Linked DNA regions of Homo sapiens: region 2 is linked to region 1. Evidence: promoter capture Hi-C in human tissues and cell types (Jung and others, 2019). All regions are on one chromosome and are shown on one strand. The core of a region is centred on a gene start or on the middle of the fragment in contact, and the rest is flanking DNA. Distances in the headings are between cores, read along the strand shown. Region 1 holds the start of ABRA (actin binding Rho activating protein). Region 2 has its middle 45 kb from the start of ABRA.

Region 1 (7,428 bases), core at 3,392-5,891:
TTTATCAGAAGCAGAGTGACAGCATTCAAAAGGCAATATGAACATTTCTGCTCAGCAGTTTTGCTGTCTGTCATTTTCAGCTTCGTTTGAGAGCCAGGCCTGTGATTCTCCTTGCAGATTGAACTGTCTTCAGAGTCTATTGAAAGTGTTCGCGGCCCTAGAATTGGGCACAGGCAGAAGGACAGCATAATTTTGCCTTTGTTTCTTGTGAGATCCTTCAATACATTTGCACCAAAACCCTGAACTTTGGGAGTCATTAGGATTTCACTAATTAAGCCCACATTTTGATCTCCATTTTGGTCCTTAAGTCTGTTCTCTACTAAGAGGGACAGTCTAGCATAGTGGTTAAGAACACAAGTGCTGGCATCAGCCTTCCCAACTTCATCCCTTCCTCGTTCTGTGACTTGGATTATATGTTTCTTAATGTCTCTGTGTGTCAGTTTCCCTATTTACAAAATGGCAGCCTCCTGCTCAACTGCTATTATTTTCACTGAATTAAACATGGAGGACAGGATGGATAAGTGATTGGTACTTTAATCTTGCACCTTTATGAGAGAGAGATCTAATTTCTTTTGTCTAAAGGAACTGGATTGAACAAGTCACATACGATCAAAAGACTGAATATTTTTAAAGCAAGACAAAATATGAACCATTTTCATAGTAAAACTCCAGTCAGAAGAACCACTGTTGGTAAAGAATTTATCTACTTTTTTCACAGTTGATCTGTTTCTACTATCCATGGAACATCTTAACCACCAAGAAACTTTCTTTCCACCTAAACATCTGTGATACATAATTGTCTCCTTATTGGCAGATACAGGGAGAGAAGGGTGCCTATAATTAAAAATAAGTGGACAAAAAGGCTTTCCAAATTGGCTTAGTAATGCTGCTTTCATTTCTCAAGCAATATTTGAGAGTATCATTGGGCAAAAATTCCCATGAGGCTTCTGCTGAAGTTTCCTGAGCACAGCTAGGATTACCACTGGAATTAAGAGCTGCTGTTGCTGCATATAACATTCTGGTACCCTATGTACTCTAAGACAGAGGGAAAGGAACCAAAAAAGGAAAGAAGAGATTTAACCACCACTACTACTCTGAACCTGCAGAGCCAAGCTCCTAGCATCTTGAAGGGCTGGGATCACCAAGCCTGGCTTCCTGTATTATGATGAGTACAATTTGCTAATGAGGTCCCCTGAGTCTATCACTTTACATAGCTAATATAAAAATAACCCCGTGAGATATGAGTTATCACATCTCTTTTTTAGATAAGGACCGAGAGACTCAGGATTACCAAAGTAACCATGATTCAAATCTAATTGTCTCTTATTCCAAGCGTAGGCATTTCAACACATTAAGAAGGTGCCCATGTGCCAGCCTGATTTGGGGAACCCCAAGATGGGTCCTGTATCCCACTCCCCACTTTTAGGTGAGACAGTTTACTCAGAGCCAGAATGACTGAGTTCAAATTTCATGGGCTGTAAAATCTCATACAAATTCCCTAATATTTCTTCATCTCCTTTCTCCATCTATCAAAGAGGGATGATGATTATAACCTATCATATGAGGATATTGTGGGATTAAATAAATAAATATATGAAAAGTGCTTAGACAAGTGCCAAAGAATGTCTAGCTCTACTATGCATTCAGGATCGGTCCCAGCTGTCACCTCCTTACTTCTAGTTAATTTAAAATGTGCTGAGAGAAAGATCTTGTCATTGTGCCCCCTCAGTCTTTATTCTTTTGGACCCCGTTATTCCATTTCTAGCACACATGTCCCAAGATCCAAAAGGCCAGAGTTTGGAATATGGTTCCTCATGTTCGGATAGCATAGTTACTTCTGATCATGAACTCCTACATTAAGCACAAATCCAGACCTCTGAATGCATCCTCAAGACACTGCATGAAGGTTGGAACCATGTCTGGTTTTAAAACATTGCATTTGGAGTAGGGCACGTCTTAGCTTTGTCACTAATTTGCTGGGCAAACTTCCCCTCTGAGCTTTGGTGTTCTTATCCCTGAAATGAGTGAATAGCTACTCAAAGGATTATGAGAAGTGAAGCGACAAAGCATTTAAACACCTACAGCACACACTGAACACGTGACAGATTATTGTAATTACCCATTTGCCATTTTATTTTTCTTGAGAGCTGGCAGTGTAGTAGTTCTAATTCTTTCAAAACACCTTTACAGTCTCAAACTATAAGACAGCTCTTTAGGCCGCGTGCGGTGGCTCATGCATCCCAGGACTTTGGGAGGCCGAGGTGGGTGGATCACCTGAGGTCAGGAGTTCGAGACCAGCCTGGCTAACATGGTGAAACCCCATCTCTACTAAAAATACAAAAATTAGCTGGGCGTGGTGGTGTGCACCTGTAATCCCAGCTATTCAGGAGGCTGAGGCAGGAGAATCACTTGAACTCAGGAGATGGAGGTTGCAGTGAGCCGAGGTCGTGCCACTGTACTCCAGCCTGGGCAACAGAGTGAGACTTCATCTCAAAAAAAAAAAAAAAGGAACAGCTTTTTGTCAAATTAGGTAACAATTTTTTTCTTTATTTTCTTATTGTTTCATAAGACTTGAAAAACACACTTGCACATCAAACTGTCCCCAAAGGGAGTCAGTCTATAAATGTAATGACATCAGACATTTTTCTTATATTTTGATACCCTGGCATTGTGGAATAAGAAATCCTGACTTTCTACCATGTGGAGTTACTGTCTTGAAATAAAGCACGTGTTTCTTGTCTATATACATGTTTCAGTTTGAGTAAATGTGTATGTGAGTGTATGTATGTGTATTTACCATCTAGATATTTTAATTATTGCTGTATTTGTTTACAAATAGGACAAACTGTTTTTGAAAATTTGAAAAGTTGCAAAGTAACCAAATCTATGTGAATAATAATAGTTTTCGTGTATTGAGCATATGTGACAAGCTCTGTGTTTGGTAGCCCTAATCTCATTTACGTTTCCCAATACAATAGAACTTCTCCCAAAAGCTTACTGTTGCTGTCATTTTACAAATGAGGAAATCTGCTTTTTTTAATTTTTATGTGAAACAGAGTCTTGCTGTGTTGCCCAGGCTGGAGTACAGTGGCATGATCTTGGCTCACTCCGACATCAGCCTCATGGGTTAAAGCCATTCTCATGCCTCAGCCTCCCGGGTAGCTGGGATTACAGATGCACAACACTGTGCCTAGCTATTTTTGTGTGTTTTTTGGTAGATATGGGGTTTCACCAATGTTGGTCAGGCTGGTCTCAAACTCCTGGCCTCAAGTGATCCGCCCTCCTCAGCCTCCCAAAGTGCTGAGATTACAGGCTGAGCCACTGCGCCCAGCTGATGAAATCACCTTTAAAAATGACTAGTTAGGGGCAGAACTAGGATTTGAACTTGGGTCTGTCTGACTTCATTCAGAGCCTGCTTTCAAATTAGACAGCAGCCTCCACCTGTTTAGAGTCAGAGATTTGTATTCCATGGGTGTTATTGAAGCAGACGTATCTCCTGATAATAGCATAGACATTTGGGACAAGGTAAAAGTTTCCCCAATGAGTCTATCAGAAACCACTCTTATCTCTAAAGAAATAAGCCAATTTGTTACTCATTATAGAACTGACTTAAAGAATTCACGAAAAACAGGCTTCCCTCTCTGATGGCTTCATCTTTGTTGAGGCTAAGACTTGAGTGTTCAGTTCAAAACAAAAACGAGAAACAAAATAGCGCAGGCCCTGACCAAAAGGTCCATGTCTAAGGTTGGCACTGACCTTCAGCCCAGGGACATCCCTCCTCTACAGTACTCACTGCCTGTCCAGTCTTTGAGATTCTCACTCTAACCCTGGCAGGACTTCATCTGCTGCCTGGATTCCCAGACTTGGTTGGGGCTCAATAGTGATCCTGACACAAGGAGTGGGAGAATGCATTCACTTACTGGGAGGGCAAGGGGCGCTTGATCCTGACCACAGCCACCTGCACTCCATCCTGCTCGGGCCTCTCCTCAGCCTCTCCTCCATAGCCGCTGTCCTCTGTGTCTACGCTGTCACTCCTCCATGTGGGCTCCTCCTGCTCCATCACTCTCCAGCCCTTGGTTAGCTCAGACACCAGGTTGGCACATTTTCTCCTCCGCGTTGGGGAGCCGTGGCTGTGGAGGATTCTGTCAATGTCATTCTCTGGCTGCCCAGGTTCAAGCACACCAGCATCCCTCTCGTACCTGTGGCTGAGGTGGCTCACGTCCCCTCCTCTCTCATAAGTCTTGCTGACCACCGTTTTGGACACCTCTTTCTTTTTGATGTGAGAAACCTCAGGGGCTTTCTCTGAGCTTTGTCCATCTCCATGTCCTTCTGGCAGGCGGGGTGGCGACTTTGGGGCACTCTGAGCTTTCTGGTGTGAAGTAGGGGGTGTGATTGGTTTAGGAGCTTGAGGTGAGTCCTGGGTCCCTCCCGGCAGCCAGCCTGTAGGCTCCTGGGCCTGCCTGATGCTGTTCTCATTCGCCCACTGCTGCCAACCTCGGGCCAAGCTGATGACCAGGGTGGCTGTGCGTATCTTCCGGAGGGCGCTCTTGGCTGGGCCCTCCCCGCTTTCCTTTTCGCCCGGAGCCATGCTGCCCACCTGTCTTTCTCTGCTGATAGCCTGGACACTGGCTAAAATGAGTGTGGTCCAGTGGAGTGCCTGGGATTTAAATAGAAGCAGGGTGCGGGGTGGGAAGGAGAGCTTAGTGACGATGGAAACTATGTGAAGCATTTCTTGCCAAGATGTGGCGCCTTTGCCCTGATGGTGTTCTTTTTATAAATCATGACAGCTCCAGTTTCATCACGGCAGAGGGACATCTCTGCTGGTAAGGAACAGTGATATGCTCACTCTCTTCTCCAAGTGCCAGAGTGGAAATTACTAGATCAAGTCATGTGCTCAGCCTTACGTTTGTCTGACCTTAATATGGTCCTACCATTTATAGGTGCATACATATTATCCTGGGAACATTATAGGATTGTTCCCACTTAAACCCCAGCAGCCCTCAGTACAGCTCCTAATTAGTTCCACTTTATAGCTAAGTAAAATAAAATCTAACTTCCAGCAGCTAATAAAATATGAGATTCAAATCCATCTCTGTGTAATTCAAAGCGTGTGCCTCCTTTTATTCCAGTTATCAAAGATCCTAAGTTGCCTTTTTCTTTTTCATTCAACTCCATTAGAAATAGACCTTAGAAAATCAACTCATCCAATCTTCATTTTCCAAATGAGAAAATTGAAGCCCAGATACGAGAAAGACCAAAGTCCAGATAGTCAAAGACTAATTACTTTCTAGTCCCAACTTTGAACTATTGTATAGATAACTCATATTAAAATACAAAAAGGGAGTCAAAATTTTGGTCCAATCATTAAAAAATGTTTTTAAAACCTGTATACACATTGGATTTTAGAAATTATTATTGGAGGCCGGGCGAGGTGGCTCACGCCTGTAATCCCAGCACTTTGGGAGGCCGAGGCGGGCAGATCACGAGGTCAGGAGATCGAGACCATCCTGGCTAACATGGTGAAACCCCGTCTCTACTAAAAATACAAAAAATTAGCCGGGCGTAGTGGCGGGCGCCTGTAGTCCCAGCTACTCGGGAGGCTGAGGCAGAAGAATCCTGTGAACCCGGGAGGCGGAGCTTGCAGTGAGCGGAGATCGAGCCACTGCACTCCAGCCTGGGTGACGAGCGAGACTCCGTCTCAAAAAAAAGAAAGAAAGAAAGAAAGAAATTATTGTTGGAATACATATTTTGAAATACTTTGTTTGAAAAGATCATCTAAGGACAGAATTCTAAGGACAGAATAAATGAAAGCTATCGGTAGCTCACTTCTTATCCCCATCCCGCCTACCCTTACCGTTTGGTTTGTGGTTGTTGTTTTGTTTTGTTTTTTGAGATAAGGTCTTGCTGTGTCCCCAGGCTGGAGTGCAGTGGTGTGATGATGGCTCACTGCAGCCTTGACCTCCTGTGCTCAATCAGTCCTCCTGCCTCAGTCTCCCAAGCAGCTGGGAATACAAGCATGAGCCACCATGCCTAGCTAATTGTTTTTGTTTTTGTTTTATATAGACGGAGTCTCGCTATGTTGCCCAGGCTGGTCTCAAACTCCTGAGCTTGTGCAGTCTTCCCACCTTGGCCTCCCAAAGTGCTGGGATGACAGATGTGAGCCCCCACGTCTGGCCCCTTTTGTTTTTAGTAACACAATCTTCCTTAGCAGGACTTTATGTTCATGTAGGCAAAGACAGTTTTTCAACTCTCACAAGAGGGACTGAAATATAATATTTTTTTAAAAGGACTGGAAAGACAAGCATGTGGACAGAAAGAGAAACATCTATGCAGTGTATTAAACCAGATAAAAATGTCCAGGGCTCAGCAATGAATAATTTCTTAAAGTAAGACGGAATTTTTTTTCATTCAACAGGTCTGTTGGCTTTAAAACTATATCCTTTCCTTCAGTCTTGCATGCAAGTAACCATACTGATTGAAAACTGCTGTTTAAGAGCACAAAAAGGTATAAAAGTTAATTATTTCAGAGAGTGAGACATTTATTTTGGAAAAAAGTTGGTATTAGTTTTTTGTTGTTGTTGTTGTTTTGTTTTTTTGTTTGAGACGGAGTCTCGCTCTGTCGCCGAGGCTGGAGTGCAGTGGCGCGATCTCGGCTCACCGCAAGCTCCGCCTCCCAGGTTCACACCATTCTCCTGCCTCAGCCTCTGGAGTAGCTGGGACTACAGGAGCCCGCCACCACGCCCGGCTAATTTTTTTGTATTTTTAGCAGAGACAGGGTTTCACCGTGTTAGCCAGGATGGTCTTGATCTCCTGGCCTCGTGATCCTCCTTCCTCGGCCTTCCAAAGTGCTGGGATTACAGGCGCGAGCCACCGCGCCCGGCCGCTATTCGTTTTTCATCGTGTGGGTTATTTACCTCTTAGGATAAAAAAAATTGGGAAGTGATTTAATACTTAATCTACAGATCTGTCAGAGGTGTTTCCAGAGTTCAACGGCATCTGATAACATTAACTGAGGGCCAGAAATGCGGAGAAAAAAAAAAATCCCTCTTGATTAATTAAGAGGAAATTGGATCACAAGGAAAGAAAACTATTACAAACAAAGATTTCAATCTGAGCCTGAAATTTCTGGCATTCCTCCCAGCAATGCAGATTCACTGCAGCCTGTTTGGTTCTTATCAGAATCTCTTCATCCCACTTGGAAGGTCTTAGGAAAAAATAGAGTTCCTCTAAGACACCCATACGCTTAGCCCAGAATCAGGATAATTTATAGCTTTCAACGGGATTTTCCTGCTTGCCTGTCCACACCTGCCCCAGATTCAGTCCTGATAGAGGGAGAAGAAAGGGAAACAGCAAATGTTAACAGTCTTTCACGTATTAACTGGCATTGCAGTCAGCTACTGGGGTTTGGGGATGTCAGCAGATGGTCTT
Region 2 (7,428 bases), core at 1,513-4,012, 44 kb after region 1:
TCCTACCACCTCCTCAAAAGCACGTAGCTCTCTTGTCTCCTGGCCTTCATGCTTTTCTCTCTGTTTGGAACAGTTATTCTTTTCTTTGCCTAATTTTCACTCCTTCCCCAGGGCTCAATTTAAAGGGCCCTGGCTCCGGCAAACCCCTCCCAGAGGTGAGAGGCATGCTGCCCCTCACTCCCCTAAGGCCCTCTGTTGCCCTTCTGACACCTCACTGATGCTGCTGCCTGCTTGTTTCCATGTATTCTCTGTTGACTGTTAACACCTTGAAGGGCAGGGACCACCCTATATTGCTCACCATTTTAATTCCAGTGCCTGCTGCAGTATCCAACATGAGTAGATTCTTAATGAATATTTATTGAAAGAATGGTTTCAGTTTGTAATATACAAAGGGAACAAGTGAGAGCTGAAATTGTGAGCCAACTTAAAAACATCAATAAGAGAACTAAATTATTAGGGATTGAACCTTAGCTGAATTACCCCCCCACCAAAAAAAATATTGTCGAGAAGAGTAAGAGGTAGAGAACAGAGAGGATGATGGGCCTTTCCTCATCCCCTGCTAACCTGTGCAAACTGACAGTTATGTGCTCAGTCATACAGTGGCTCCATCATAGAAGTAAGGACAAGCACCCTGTCACCGATTCTTCTGCGGGCAGTAGCAGGTTCCTCTGGGACTGGGGGCAGGGAAAGGTCATCTGGTGTCTTAGAACCCAGGACCCCGAAGCCCTCAATGACAGTCACTTCTTGGTTGCTGTTACCTTACTGTAGACCCCCCAAAAGCATGAAGAGGCCACGTGAAGGGCTGCTAGTCTAACCTCTCATTTAAATCAGGGCTGTCACAGGCACCTTTTTTTTTTTTTTTTTGAGATAGAGTCTCACTCCATCACCCAGGCTGGAGTGCAGTGGCATGATCTCGGCTCACTGCAACCTCTGCCTCCCAGGTTCAAGCGATTCTTCTGCCCTAGCCTCCCAAGTAGCTGGGATTACAGGCGCATGCCAGCTAATTTTTGTATTTTAGAAGAGACGGGGTTTCACCATGTTGGCCAGGCTGGTCTCGAACTCCTGACCTCAGGTGATCCACTGGCCTCGGCCTCCCAAAGTGCTGGGATTACAGGCATGAGCCACCACGCCCGACCACCATTTTTAATAAATGATGATGCAGCCCCTTCTGGAAACTGATTCACAACAGAGTTCAATCCCTTGTTAAGCAATTTTTATTCAACAACAAGGGCAAAAATGTTTTTTGGTATTTTGTTCTGAAACCTGATTTTCTAAAACTTCCATTCATGGGCCCTAGTTCTGGAAAAATACATAAGGACTTATTCCCCCTTAATGTAATAGATCTTGAAATGTACTTTACAGAAAATGCCAATTTTGAAAAGTCTCAATCCCACAAAAGAGATCCAGACAAATTTATTATTGGTCTGAAAAAAATGTCACCCAGATCTTTAGCTGTTTTGCTATAGACTCAAACCTTGGATCATTTGCTCCACTAATGTATTAATTTGGTTAATATGATTGTGATGATAGATTACATTTTGCTCTAGGTTGAATTCTTCCTTTTGAAATTGCTGTCAGTTGAACTCATATGCTGACTTATTTACAGGTTACAAACAACTAACTCAGTTGCTTTGTTTAGTTCCTAAATCACTTCCCTATTTTTAGATCATTGCCGTGTTTGAGAAGAATAGAGAACCTTTGATTTCCTAGGCATGTGGCAGCTTGAGGTGCCAGCATTTAGGGCTATTGTAGCTAAATCTCATTCATGGAATGAAAGTATGTGGCTGGTTGTAGTTGTGACATTGAATTCAATTGTTTTTGTTCTTTTCTAGGAAGAGATTCCACCTAATAGTTTTAGTCTAAGTTAATTTAGCTATGTTGAAGGCCTCCACCCCTCTCAGTAGGTTGCTCTATGATGACACACCCACTGTCTACTGGCCTCTGCTGTGTAACTTGAAGCCACCTGCAGTTGGTTGTGTTAGTGTGTAATATCCTAAGAAGTCATGCCATGTCCTTACAAGTGAAATCACAGTGCCTAGCTTCATTTAATGCCATTCCAGGTCACTTTGCCAGGAAAAATCATTGACTCATGGAAAGAAAGCTTGTATTAAAAGTGGAGGAAAGCACAGAGAATTTATTCAAGAAGTTATTGATACCTAAATCACTTGGAAATGGATATTTACGTCCCTGATTCTTTTTGTTTCACGTACCAGAAGTGTAAAGGCCTATGGGATTGACATATATCCTCCCAGTGTTTACTTCTCAACTAAACATTTCATATCCTGAAATATCCTAGTTATTTTTATAAGACAGCTTCCTTGCTTTTCTCCAAGAGATTTTTGGGATAGAACAGTGGTTCTCAACCACAGGTGATTTTTTCCCCCCAGGGGACATTTGGCAATATTTGGAGATATTTTTGGTTGTCACAGGTGAAGGGTTGCTACTGGCATCAAGGGGGTAGAGGTCAGGAATTCTGCTGAAAATCCTACATGAGGAGGACAGCATCCCACCTCCAACAAAGAACTGTCTGGTCCAAAATGTCAATAGTGCCAAGGTTGAGAAATCCTAGGTTAGAGAATCTATTTCTAATTGATTTAAATATTTTCTCTATTGACTTCAACCTTATTTACTGATTTAGATGATTTTATTGAGTTTGACAATGACTGGGGTTAGGAAAGAGCTGCTGCTTATCAAAACCCACTAAACCACATCCAAGATGAACTCACATTACAAGGATATTTCTGGGTGAGACTTGCTCCTCCATGCCTTCTGCACTCTTTATGTAAAGACACTGAAAGGGAATAGGTTTTAGTTTTCTATTGCTGCCATATCAAATTGCCACAAATTCAGGAGCTTAAAGCAACACAAATTTTTTATGTTACAGTTCTGCAGGTCAGATGCCTGGTACAGATTTCACTGGGCTAAAATCAGGGTGTTGGCAATGTAGAATTCATTATGGATGCTCTGGGGAAATATTCATTTCCTTGCCCTTTTCTACTTCTCTAGGTGCCAGCATTCCTTGGCTTGTGGCCCCTTTCTCCATAGGCAGTAATGTGCAGCTCTCTGATCTTTCTTCTATAGTCATACCTTCCTCGCAGCCAGGAAGAGCTTTCTGCTTTTAAGGATGCTTGTGATTGCATTGGGCCCACCCAGATAACCCAGGATAACTTCCCCATTTCATGGTCCCTAACTTAATCATATTTGCAAAGTACCTTTTCCCATGTAAGGTAACATATATATTCATAGGTTGCAGGGATTAGGATATAGATACTTTTGGGAGCCATTATGTTGCCTATTACAAAATAAGACTAATTTTGGCACCACCTAACTTCCATTGGGCTATTGATGTCCTATAAACTGGGACAAACTAAAGAACAGAGGCTTTGGGGGATGTGCTGATATCACGTCATAGAAAATTCCTGGGAGCAGTTCAACTGCAGCCTTGAACATAGGAGTAAGTTTGCCTCTAATGGAAGTGGATATTTCAATTGTCAATCATTTTGGAAAGAAGTCATTCCTGGGTGAGTCTTAGAAAGGGTGAGGAAAACACCTTTCTTTTCTCTCCAAGGCCTGGGTTAATTTAGCCTAGATCTGGAGCGAAAGGAACCAAGAACGCATATAGATGTTGGGGGTAGGATAAACCCCTGGGCCTGAGCAAGTGGCCTGGGATAGAAGACACGGTGTCAACTTACTTTGTAAGGGACCTAGAAGAGGGTGGAGACTGTGCAATATGTTGGAAAAGTCTTAGTTTTTCAAAAAGTATCTTGTTTCTGCAATGCTGTCAGAAATGGAAGGAAATAGCTTCTGCTGTACTTGAAGATGGCTCCCCTAGAATGGGAAGACATAATCTACAGAGTCCAGAATCACATGGCTGCTGAAGGCGGCCTGGGGAAGGCAATGATTAATTTTATATGTCAACTTGACTGGGTTAAGGGATGCCCAGATAGCTTGTAAAACATTTTTTCTGGGTGTACCAGTGAGGCTATCTCCAGAAGAGATTGGCATTTGAATTTGTAGATTGAGTAAAGAAGCTTCACTTTTGCCAATGTGCACAAGCATCATCCAATCCTTTGAGGACCCAAAAGGGTAAAAAAGGCAGAGGAGGGGCAAATTAGCTCTGTCTTCTTGAGTTGGGAAATCCATCTTCTGCCCACAGACATTAGAGCTCCTGGTTCTCAGGCCTTCAGCCTCAGACTGAATTACACCACTGGCTTTCCTGGTTCTCCAGCTTGAAGATATCATATGGCAACATGTCCTGGTCTCCATAATTTTGTGAGCCAATTCCCCTAGTAAATCTCCTCTTACATATCTCTATATTTGTTTTTTGAGATGGGGTCTTGCTCTCTCGCCCAGGCTGAAGTGCAGTGGCGAGATCTCAGCTCACTGCAAGCTCTGCCTCCCGGGGCTCACGCCATTCTCCTGCCTCAGCCTCCTGAGTAGCTGGGACTACAGGTGCCCACCACTACGCCCGGCTAATTTTTTGTATTTTTAGTAGAGATAGGGTTTCACTGTGTTAGCCAGGATGGTCTCGATCTCCTGACCTCGTGATCCACCCGCCTTGGCCTCCCAAAGTGCTGGGATTACAGGCGTGAGCCACCATGCCTGGTCACATATCTCTATATTTCTTATTGGTTCTGTTTTTCTGGAGAACCCTGACTAGTACAGGGAACACATCAGAAACTGAGATATTCAGAAACTGTTAGAAGAAGAAAACCTGGCAAAAGACTGAACATTAGAAGGATAAAAGGTTCCAACTATTGTGATTTGTGTGTTAAAGGAAAGTGGGACCTCACGGATTATGAAGTCTGGGCTATTTATGTAATGTACCAAGATCTGTTTTATAGTAATCAGTACAAGTATGAGATTTGAGAGCATTTTGGTAATAAATATGACATTCCTGATTCACAGAAAACTCTCTTAAATCACAAGATTTTACAATGTGATGCTGCAGGGATTGCTTTGTTTTTCTTTTGAAGGTATTGGCTGGGGTGGACCTTGTGGAAAATACCTTGGACTGCTCATGAGGAGACTGGGTTGTGAGTCCCCTGTTTCCCCTTTGCACATTGGACCTGAATGAACTCATCCACTTGTGGATTTATCCGTCATTATATCTGGATGATTCTTAGTGTAATACTTCAACTTTGACCTCCCAGTTGGAAAACTATAGCCCCTGACCTCAAGGAACTCAGACTTGTTTATATCTCCTTTGTATCCTCAGTCCTCAGCATAGGGCCTGGAAATATTACTAAATGATTTTTTGCTAAATAACTATATCAAGTATATGACTCTCACTAACTGGCTGTGTAAACTTGGTGAATTCACTTTACTGAGACCCAGGTTCCTCATCCAAAATGAGGTGCTTAGAAATCTTAATTCTAAGGTAATTTCTGTCTCTAACATTCTATAATCTTTTCAGTGTGTAAAGTGTCACTTCACCCTGTGATGGTTTTACACACTCTCTTTATTGTTTGACAAAGTAGAAAAAGCATTAATTGTCTTCCAGTAAAGTGTCAGATGTTTCACCTGACAGGTAACCAGGCTCAGGGTAGATGACTCTTTTGTGTAGATTTGGCTTCTTTCGTTCCAATCAATTCATGCTATGTTTACAAAACATTAAGTGCAATTGAAATTAATTTCACCCTGGGTGCCTTGCCATACAGAATCAAAGGAAGCAGTTTTTGGGTGCTGCGTCAGACAAGGGTTTGGGCAAAATGAGGAACAAGATGAGACACTGATCTTTTGCCCTTTTGTTCTACCTTGCTGTCTCCTTAGGCTTCTTTGTCAGGGACATATATCTGGTCCCAGGGATTCCATTCCCCTCACCTGAACTCCCTTAACTCTGCTGAGGCTGTGTGGTGAAAGGGTTCTTAATTGCGTTTTCTTCCAGGGACCAGGCAGCTGTCTTTCCTCCAACGCACATGTAGCTTTCTTCTGAGCTTTGGCATGTGGGTGATGTCAGAAATATGCTGGTTTACAAATGCCAACACCCAAGGCCACCAAGGGGCGCAGAATTCACCTGCCAGAGTGTTTGACACTTGTGTCAGGAAAAGGCAACAGCTGTGAAAAGCCCTATGAGAAATACTTTCTCACATAGGTGGGAAAGGGTGTCTAGAATTGTAAATCAATTTGAGGTCTACTTCTTCCAGCGACTTCTCCCAAGGGTGGAGAAAATTGGAAACTCCTCTAGCTCATTTGGCGATTGTGTGGAGAATGATAGCCTACCAATGATGCAGCAGTACATTTTCACCATGGGATACAAGACTCTGGTTTCTCTACCTGAGAGGTTTGATTAAGACTGAGACACCAATTTCTTCTAAATGTAGATTTTTGTGTGCAGTCACCTCTTTTTTTTTTTTTTTTTTTGACAGAGTCTAGCTCTGTCACCCAGGCTGGAGTGCAGTGGCGCCATCTTGGCTCACTGCAAGCTCCGCCTCCCAGGTTCACGCCATTCTCCTGCCTCAGCCTCCCGAGTAGCTGGGACCACAGGTGCCCGCCACCACACCCAGCTGATTTTTGTATTTTTAGTAGAGATGGGGTTTCACCGTGTTAGCCAGGATGGTCTCGATCTCCTGACCTCGTGATCCGCCTGCCTCGGCCTCCCAAAGTGCTGGGATTACAGGCGTGAGCCACTGTGCCTGGCCCGCAGTCACCTCTTTGTATATAATATTAAAGATCACAAGCTTTGAGCATGGCCAAAGAGACCAACTCTTTTATTTAGACCAACCATAGCGATAGTATTCAAATGTCTTTCCTTCAGCTCTGCCTCCTTGAAGGTCTTAGAGAACATTTCATTTTATTCGTGATGGTATCCAGCTTCCTTTGGATACTAATAGGAAGTAGGTTATACATCTTGCTGATAAATAGAAAGCCTTCTGGTTTTAAATTTAGTAACGAATTAAAGCAAGGTAGGTGGACACAGCCCTTTGTCCAGGATTTAGTCACTCAGAGGTCGTGGGCGCAGCATCTACATTGATACAAAGAGAATGTGTATATCAGCATATCTTTGGTAAGGAAGTCTTCTACCCAGGAAGTCAGGCTTGTTAAACCTGGAGACCTGCCAGAGTGATCCCAATGAACCTGAAATTCTACGTGTAACGTGTTTGAACTCAGAGACTCATATAGGCCTATTTAAGTAGTAGTTTTACATTAAAAAAAATACAATCCAGACACTCAAAAGGAATCTAGAAAAAAATTCAAGTATTTGGGCTACTTTGAGAATATTAATAGGAATGAATATAATGATACGGGAGTGCTGGGAAGGGAAGAGCGTGGTCCTTCTAAATGATATGGAATTGGGGAAGGGAAGTGCTGGGTAGAGGAAGGCATGGTCCCTGGCTAGGGCTCTACCCCCACGGACCTAGGTGAGGACAGGCACTTCTGCCTTCGTGCCCAAATGTTGCATTTTTCAGGACCACCCCGGCCTGCCAC

Evidence for each region. Contacts are between HindIII fragments. The study calls those that stand out against the background at their distance.
Region 2: a contact is called between a fragment that was not itself captured here and the fragment with the promoter of ABRA in region 1, in 3 of the 25 tissues and cell types used here (hippocampus, mesendoderm cells and ovary).

What each region holds. Positions count from the first base shown.
Region 1 is chr8:106,765,603-106,773,030 of GRCh38, forward strand. It overlaps ABRA (actin binding Rho activating protein), which reads right to left and starts at 4,642. Exons shown (of 2, transcript NM_139166.5): 1 at 3,921-4,642. The coding sequence starts at 4,588. The HindIII fragment of the contact is 12,258 bases long and covers 1-7,428 here.
Region 2 is chr8:106,811,545-106,818,972 of GRCh38, forward strand. No RefSeq gene overlaps it. Among named protein-coding and RNA genes, the nearest start is that of ABRA, 45 kb to the left of the region's middle. The HindIII fragment of the contact is 5,186 bases long and covers 170-5,355 here.